Regions from separate parts of the Homo sapiens genome. Here region 1 is linked to region 2. Evidence: promoter capture Hi-C in 16 types of primary human blood cells and fetal thymus (Javierre and others, 2016). All regions are on one chromosome and are shown on one strand. Each heading gives the region's core, a stretch centred on a gene start or on the middle of the fragment in contact. The rest is flanking DNA. Distances are from core to core; before and after follow the strand shown. Region 1 holds the start of LOC105371813 (a long non-coding RNA gene). Region 2 holds the start of HOXB13 (homeobox B13).

Region 1 (4,231 bases), core at 1,505-4,004, 85 kb before region 2:
TTATCATCCCCATTTTACTTATACAGAAGCTGAGGTACAGAGAGGCTAAGTTACTCACCCATGGTCACACATTCTAGAAACTAGTAGAGCTGGGATTTGGATCCAGATCCATCTGTCTTTGTTAGCAATGCCCTGAATATTGTGGAGAAAATGACTAGGCATGAGCCTGATCTGAATATTGCATCTTCCAATCTTGCAGAATTTCTCAGTTTCTAGAAGAATAAAAGATGGCATCTAAGTCAGCAAGATTCTTATTGTTCCCACTACAGGTGACTTGTCATTCTCAACACTTCTTATTGGCAAAGCCCTTGAGCAATTGGGTGCCCCATCCCTCCCTTGTTAGTTCACATTTTGCTTAGGACCCTTTCAGGCCCCGGGCTGAAATTCAAAGTGTGACTAAAACGAAAAGTCAAAAGACCACAAAAAACATCTTATTTTATCCTGTCTGAATCAAAGCTCAAAGCACTTTTCTAGATGTGAAGCTTTTATCCTCCTAGTGGTCCTGTAATTATAGAGAAGATAGGGAGTGGGAGAGGAAATAATTGCTTGGATTTTTATGACATACTGAGTTGGAGGGGCAAAGCTGAAAGCAAGATCCAGAGGTCTTACCTCCACATCTTTTCTTCCCCCATCCAATTTGACATTTTCCAAGAACCACTGGAGGCCTTCAGAGGGATGCTTCCAGTAGGGAAATGAGGACCAAAAGATGAAAAGGAGGTACGTGAAGGAAAACCTATTATCTGGTGAAAGAGAGGGACTTCACAGACAGACACAATAGGCGAAACTTTCAGTGCTCTATATATTCCTATAGACTAGAAAAAAAGTCCAGGTGATGAAGGTCAGAGATGAAAAAACTTGGCTACAACTTGAAATATGTTCTCCCAGGGTTCTCTTAGTCAACCACCAAATTATTGTTTTCTATCATTTATAGGATGCCCGTGTTCATTCAGTTTTGCAAAAGAAATCACTAAACTGCTGGGCGCGGTGGCTCATGCTTGTAATCCCAGCACTTTGGGAGGCTGAGGTGGGCTGATAACCTGAGGTTGGGAGTTTGAGACCAGCCTGACCAACATGGAGAAACCCCATCTCTACTAAAAATACAAAATTAGCCAGGCGTGGTGGTGCATGCCTGTAGTCCCAGCTCCCGGGAAGCTAAGGCGGGAGAATCACTTGAATCCAGGAGGCAGAGGTTGCGGTGAGCTGAGATCGTGCCATTGCACTCCAGCCTGGGCAACAGGCTGGAGTTTGAAAGAAAGAAAGAAAGATAAAAGAAAGCACTAAACATTTTCCACCCTCTGCAACACCTCCAGGGAAGAGGAGAGTAGTCAACAGGTATAGTCCTTCAGAAGTGGAAATAAGACAGGGACCCTCCTCTGAGTTTTTTCCAAATAACCCGCAATGGACCCGTCCCAGTGGACCCGTCCCAGTGCTCATTCCCTCCCCCTGGTGGCCAATGTAGGACATTTTCGTGCTGTCTAACCAGGATCTTGTTGACAGCCTCTGGCTTGGAAGATCTCAAGATCAAACCCTATACTAAAATGGAAGGAAACATGAGAATTTTTTCAGTGTCTTAACTATATCCTACTTGGAAAGGTGGACTAATACCCTTCCTTAATGACACAATGCTCTTTCTTGTGTCATTAAGAAAAACTGAAGATGCTATTTTGCTATTTACTGTGTTTGTTACATTGGTAGTACAGCTCTTAGTCTTTTTTTTTTTTTTTTTTTTTTTGAGACACTGTCTCCCTCTGTCACCCAGACTGGAGGGCAGTGGTGCGATCTGGGCTCACTGCAACGTCCGCCTCCCAGGTTCAAGCGATTCTCCTGCCCCAGCCTACCGAGTAGCTGGGATTACAGGCGCCTGCCACCATGCCCAGCTAATTTTTGTATTTTTAGTAGAGACGGGGTTTCACCATGTTTGCCAACTTGGTCTCCAACTCCTGACCTCAAGTAACCCACCTGCCTTGGCCTCCCAAAGTGCTGGAATTACAGGCGTGAGCCACCGCACCCAGCCTTAGTCTTTTAAAAACTCTCTAAAGCACTTAGTCCACTTTGTCTGTCCACTAACCCAGCATAATGGGAAGATAACTTGGGGACCAGGAAGCTGGGGTTTTGATGGTGCTTCTGATTTCTTGCTCTCTGGCTGGGTACAAGTCCCCTCCCCTAGCACAGACTGGCAGAGGGCAGAGAGTTCAAAACCTCCTCTAAAAAGATTCCTCCCAGCTCTAACATTCAGGAATTCCATAGAAGCTTAGAAAATATTCTAATTACACCCTTAATAGGAGCCCTGGTACAATGTGGACATTGGAGAAAAGAAGGGAAAGAGAGTGAAAATAAATACAAGTAGAAACAATACAGCTGTTACCAGGTTATGGCAAATCTGGAGAGATCCAAGCCCTTGTTGGAGATGGGAATTTAAAGCAGTTGACTTTAAGGAAAATGATGTGGGACCAACTGATTATTTTTCTCTTTTTCTTTTTCTTTTTGTTTTTGAGGCAAGGTCTAGTTCTGTCTCCCAGGCTGGAGTGCAGTTGTGTGATCTCTACTCGCTGCAACCTCAGCCTCCCGGGCTAAAGTGATCCTCCCACCTCAGCCTCCTGAGTAGCTGGGACTACAGGCACACGCCACCACACCTGGCTTATTTATTTATTTATTTATTGGTAGAGTGGGGTTTCACCATGTTGTCCAGGCTGGTGTCAAACCCCTGGCTCAAGTGCTCTGCCCACCTTGGCCTCCGAAAGTGCTGAGATTACAGGCATGAGCCATCGTGCCTGTCCCCAACTGACTCTTAAGAGACTAAAGTCACTAAGATTGCTTTTGGGAGTTAGGAGATCAGTTACTTTAGTTTATGGTCACACTATTTATGGATGGCCTGCCGAGAGGAAAAGGCAGTGAGGGGAGCATGGAGAGACAGGCTGTGGGGTCAGATGGACATGTCTTCCAACCCCAGCTGTGCCTCTTACCTTAGTCTCTCTGTCTCAGTCTTCTCATCTGTAATAGAGGAAAGAGTATCCATGATAGGTTATTATGAGGATGAGACATTATGTTTATAAATGCTTTAGTGTAATGTCTGCTACTTGGTAAGTGGGTTTTCAATAGTCTATTGTAAGTGAATGAAACAAGCATTTTAAGTGCCAGCTATATGAGAAGGACCCAAGGTTGATGTTTTAACAATGTAAATAACAAATGTTACTTACCTAATGCTCACAACAACACTTCTGTTATATAGCTAAGGAAAATGAACCTTGGAGAAGCTTAATTAGTTCATGCATTTATTCATTCTTCCAGCCCATTAATTCAAGGAGCATATGAACATCTCATTTTTAGTATCTTTTCTAGACACTGCTAGGAGCTGAGAATGCAGAGACACAGCCTCTTCCATCAGGAAGTTCACAGTCCAGGGTTACACAGCTGGTAATGGTAGAGAGCACTTTGTGGGTACCTTCTATGTGCCAGGCACTGTTCTAAGAACTTTGTGTTGCATTAAGTCAAATGAGTAAACTCATTTAATCTCCATAACTGGGAGAAGCCACTTTACAGATGAGGAAACTAAGGCAGGAGGTTAAATAAACTGCCTGAGTTCAGACAACTAGGAAGTGGCAGAGCTGGGATTTAAATCCAGACAGAGACTTCGAAATCTGAGTTCTTAGCTACTACACTGCAGCTGCCTCTTAATAAGTGGCTTAGTCACCTGTAGCTGACGGCAGAGGCCCTTACACCATGATGTATGTATATTTCAGGATGCCACCAGCAGCTCCCCTCACTCCTTTGTATTCTCCTTAGGCCATGTCTTTTGCCTTTCCTCCTTTTATTCCTCAAGGCTACAAGACTGCTTTTGGTGTTGGCACCAACAAAATTGTTACGCAAGACAATAGGTGGGAACTACCAGGTGAGCAGGGAGTGGTTGCTAAGACTGTTAAGAGAAGTCTTGTAGAACCAAATAAAGTCCACATCTGAAAAGTCTGAGCGGGGGGTGGGGGGGGGGGTCCCAGCATCACCTGGGTCAGATTTAATTCTTATTCTGAAAACCAGGGAATTAAAATGCTTTCTGGCTGGGCGTGGTGGCTCACGCCTGTAATCCCAACACTTTGGGAGGCCGAGGTGGGCGGATCACCTGAGTTCAGGAATTTGAAACCAGCCTGGCCAACATGGCAAAACCCCGTCTCTACTAAAAATGCAAAAATAATTAGGCCGGCATGGTGACAGGTGCCTGTAATCCCAGCTATTTGGG
Region 2 (4,494 bases), core at 775-3,274:
ATTAATGCCTCTACTGTACAAGGATGAATAAATGTGCATGTGTGGGTGTTTGCCTAGTGGAAACTAAAACTGTGGACATGCCCTACATATCTATCATCTACCAAGTAAAAATTGGTGAAAAATTCTTAGTCTTTAGGTAAAAGTCTGGATATTTCTGCAGTTCATAATTAGACAAGCAAGAAACTCTGGTGAGAAACTGGAAAGCACTGAAGAGACATCTCCTCCCTTTTCTTCCATATTGTTTTCAAATGCGATCTAGTGAAGATTTCGTGCTTGGTGTCTTCAATTATAGCAATGCTCATTAGGAGTGATGTACACTACTGCCTGTGGGCCCTTTCCCACAAAGTGGCTCAAGTTCAAGGTCAGGTTGGTGAGAGGCTATGATTGAGTCTGCCCAGAGTTTAGGGTAAGCCATTCCATATAATTGTCAAGACCCTCGTGTAGAATGGAAACATTCCTGTCTTCTCCAGAAAAACTGGGAGTTCTAGAAAAAGCAGACAGAAGGATTTGATTTGGGAGGGGTAGTAAAGGAAGCGGAAAACCTCTAAAGACAGATTTGTGAAACAAACCGTTTGATTCTTCTGAATTGCACTGCACATTAGGCCCCAACAGAGGGGCCTCAAGCAATTCTGCCAGTGGCTGGGGTTTCCCCTTCCATTCCCTTTTCCTTGTAAGGAAGTTTAAAGCTTGCAGGAGGCAGATAGGGGTCTTGGGCTTTCTGGGTACTCAGCTTGTGTGGGAGTATGCCAGTATCAGGGACAGTTTCCTGGGCCCCTTGCAGACCATAGGGAGAGGACTGCAGGGCAGGGAGACTGGCATCTCCACACAGGCGTCTGTATTCTTGGGGTCCAGAACTCCCGCAGCTGGTTTCTGGCAGTCAGCCAGGCTTGGCTTCCTCAGACTTCTTTAGATCCCAAAAAAGGGGGAAAGTGCCTCTCTTCTTTCTCTTTTCTGACTGACACTTCAGGATTTTACAAGATTTTGTCCCATCCGCTCTGTCAGCTTCTCTCTTTCCCTCTTTGTGTTGCTGTCCCTGAGTCTCATCTCTCCCTCTCCCCGTCCCTCCCTCAAGTCCTGTGGGTCTCCGTCCCTCCGTATGTCTTTACTTAAAGGGAAATCCAGACCCTTCCACAGGCCACTCTAGAGGCTCCATTTCCCCTTCAGGTCCGGAAGTGGAGTGTCCTGGGTTCCATCCAGATCGCATGTCTTCTACGTCTACGTTCGTGTCTCCCGCCTCTTCCCTCAGCCTCACCCGAATCAGGGCCTCCAGAGCATTCTGGGCAGTAGCGAGTCCCTGGGTAAGGGGCGTCCAGGGCACCTCCCTGGGGCCCGGAGCAGCTCATTCCAGGACATCTGGGACAGGAAGGGTACCGGGAATGAACTGGGGTGCTAGTACCCAGGACCCAAAGCCAGGGGCTGCCAGAAATACCTATTAACCCCCATTTCCCAGCCTCCTCTTACACAGGCGCATTCCCGGGTTCTCCTCTGAGGCCGGGAGCGGCCTCCCAGCCCCACCCCCGACTCCCCTTCCCCCCCAGGAGATGGACACTTTATAGAGAGAGCTTTTTATTCTCTCGTTAAACCTGTCAAAGCGCAGGAGACAGAAAGCTAGGGAGGGAGAGGAGGAGAAGGAGGTGGGGCCCGGCTCCTCGTCCCCTCTTCCTCCGCCCACCACGCCTCCCCTCCCCCCGGACGTGTAAATGAGACTCTGCAAACTGGAAAGCAGCGAAAGGACACCTCCTTCCTTTTCTCTCTTGTTGTTTTTAAGTGGAATGAGAGAGAGAGGAGTGGAGAGGGAAAAGAAGAGAGAGAGGGAGAAGAGAGAGAGGAGAGAAAGAGCGAGAGAGCGAGAGAGAGAGACAGAGACAGAGAGAGAGAGAGAGAGAGAGAGAGAGAGAAAGAGAGAGAGAGAGAGAGAGAATAAGCTGGGGTAAAGTATTTTCGCAGTTTCTGCCTTTAGGATTTTATTAGCTTCTCTCCCCCAGGCCGCAGCCAATCAGCGCGCGTGCCCGGGCCCCTGCGTCTCTTGCGTCAAGACGGCCGTGCTGAGCGAATGCAGGCGACTTGCGAGCTGGGAGCGATTTAAAACGCTTTGGATTCCCCCGGCCTGGGTGGGGAGAGCGAGCTGGGTGCCCCCTAGATTCCCCGCCCCCGCACCTCATGAGCCGACCCTCGGCTCCATGGAGCCCGGCAATTATGCCACCTTGGATGGAGCCAAGGATATCGAAGGCTTGCTGGGAGCGGGAGGGGGGCGGAATCTGGTCGCCCACTCCCCTCTGACCAGCCACCCAGCGGCGCCTACGCTGATGCCTGCTGTCAACTATGCCCCCTTGGATCTGCCAGGCTCGGCGGAGCCGCCAAAGCAATGCCACCCATGCCCTGGGGTGCCCCAGGGGACGTCCCCAGCTCCCGTGCCTTATGGTTACTTTGGAGGCGGGTACTACTCCTGCCGAGTGTCCCGGAGCTCGCTGAAACCCTGTGCCCAGGCAGCCACCCTGGCCGCGTACCCCGCGGAGACTCCCACGGCCGGGGAAGAGTACCCCAGCCGCCCCACTGAGTTTGCCTTCTATCCGGGATATCCGGGAACCTACCAGCCTATGGCCAGTTACCTGGACGTGTCTGTGGTGCAGACTCTGGGTGCTCCTGGAGAACCGCGACATGACTCCCTGTTGCCTGTGGACAGTTACCAGTCTTGGGCTCTCGCTGGTGGCTGGAACAGCCAGATGTGTTGCCAGGGAGAACAGAACCCACCAGGTCCCTTTTGGAAGGCAGCATTTGCAGGTACCTCTATTACCCTGGGTCCCCTTGTCTCTGAGCCTGGGGTTGTGGGTCCCAATGGCATTTCCCTGGGAGGAGGAGGAGGGAGACTTGGAGCTGGTGAGGATGAGCTTGGTGCTCCTCCCTTGGTTATTAGGACTCTGAAGGAGGTCTGAGTAGCTGGAGGGCCTGGATGGAGGTCAGTGTGAGGGGCCTGAGCTGGGTGCTATCTGAAGCCTGAAGGCCACCTCACTTCTCCAGGAGGCCCTGGGACCAGCCTTTCAACATGTCTGAGAGGTTTAGATCTCTTTGCTGTTGAGTGGGGATCAGGGTGTCCCTACCCAGCACAATTCCAAACTAATTCTACACAAAAGCTAAATAACTCTCAATTCGGTGCGTGGGGAGTGGGTGTGGGAGATGGGTAAAAAGGTATTGGATGTACTGTAGAGAATACAACCTCTCACTTTCTATTAGATGAGTTTTCCAATTTCCAAAGAAAAATTTAGGTTTCCTGCAGCCGTGACATATGTGTGTGCACTGGGATGGGTTAATGTGTGTGTGTGTGTGTGTATGCGCATGTATTGGGAGTGGGGGCAGAAACGTGTTTCCAGAATTTGCCTGTAGAATCTAAAAGAGTGGCCAAGAGTCTGGAAATGCATGAAGACTGGACGTATGTGATGGTGGGCAAAGGCCTGACTGTGTGTGGTGTGTGGGTATGTTTGCAGATTCGCGGGTGTGAGAGCAGTGATGGGTGAGGGTGGCCTTCAGGAGCCAAGGCTGAGCGGTGGTGAGAGAACAAGCCGGAAGCCAGGGTGCTGTCCTGGTATGCTTTGGAGGAACAGGATTGCACGTGCGCCTGTAGGGTGACCTGTGTGCACCTGTGAGATGACTTAGCTTGGGGCTTGCAAGGCCTGGGTCTGCATGGGTGGGTATCTGACCATGCCTTTTCCTCCCTCCCTTTCACGCCGCGCAGACTCCAGCGGGCAGCACCCTCCTGACGCCTGCGCCTTTCGTCGCGGCCGCAAGAAACGCATTCCGTACAGCAAGGGGCAGTTGCGGGAGCTGGAGCGGGAGTATGCGGCTAACAAGTTCATCACCAAGGACAAGAGGCGCAAGATCTCGGCAGCCACCAGCCTCTCGGAGCGCCAGATTACCATCTGGTTTCAGAACCGCCGGGTCAAAGAGAAGAAGGTTCTCGCCAAGGTGAAGAACAGCGCTACCCCTTAAGAGATCTCCTTGCCTGGGTGGGAGGAGCGAAAGTGGGGGTGTCCTGGGGAGACCAGGAACCTGCCAAGCCCAGGCTGGGGCCAAGGACTCTGCTGAGAGGCCCCTAGAGACAACACCCTTCCCAGGCCACTGGCTGCTGGACTGTTCCTCAGGAGCGGCCTGGGTACCCAGTATGTGCAGGGAGACGGAACCCCATGTGACAGCCCACTCCACCAGGGTTCCCAAAGAACCTGGCCCAGTCATAATCATTCATCCTGACAGTGGCAATAATCACGATAACCAGTACTAGCTGCCATGATCGTTAGCCTCATATTTTCTATCTAGAGCTCTGTAGAGCACTTTAGAAACCGCTTTCATGAATTGAGCTAATTATGAATAAATTTGGAAGGCGATCCCTTTGCAGGGAAGCTTTCTCTCAGACCCCCTTCCATTACACCTCTCACCCTGGTAACAGCAGGAAGACTGAGGAGAGGGGAACGGGCAGATTCGTTGTGTGGCTGTGATGTCCGT

What was found. Contacts are between HindIII fragments. The CHiCAGO score rates a contact against its expected background, and 5 or more counts as called.
Region 1: a contact is called between a fragment that was not itself captured here and the fragment with the promoter of HOXB13 in region 2, in 2 of 17 cell types (megakaryocytes and endothelial precursors). The highest score is 6.2, in megakaryocytes.

What each region holds. Positions count from the first base shown.
Region 1 is chr17:48,811,820-48,816,050 of GRCh38, reverse strand. The region is part of intron 1 of TTLL6 (tubulin tyrosine ligase like 6); the gene reads left to right. It overlaps LOC105371813 (a long non-coding RNA gene), which reads right to left and starts at 3,811. Exons shown (of 4, transcript XR_001752926.1): 1 at 3,692-3,811; 2 at 2,964-2,991; 3 at 59-212. The HindIII fragment of the contact is 1,004 bases long and covers 2,253-3,256 here.
Region 2 is chr17:48,726,280-48,730,773 of GRCh38, reverse strand. HOXB13 (homeobox B13) reads left to right here and starts at 2,024. Exons shown (of 2, transcript NM_006361.6): 1 at 2,024-2,781; 2 at 3,731-4,494. The coding sequence starts at 2,181. The coding sequence ends at 3,984. The HindIII fragment of the contact is 3,706 bases long and covers 689-4,394 here.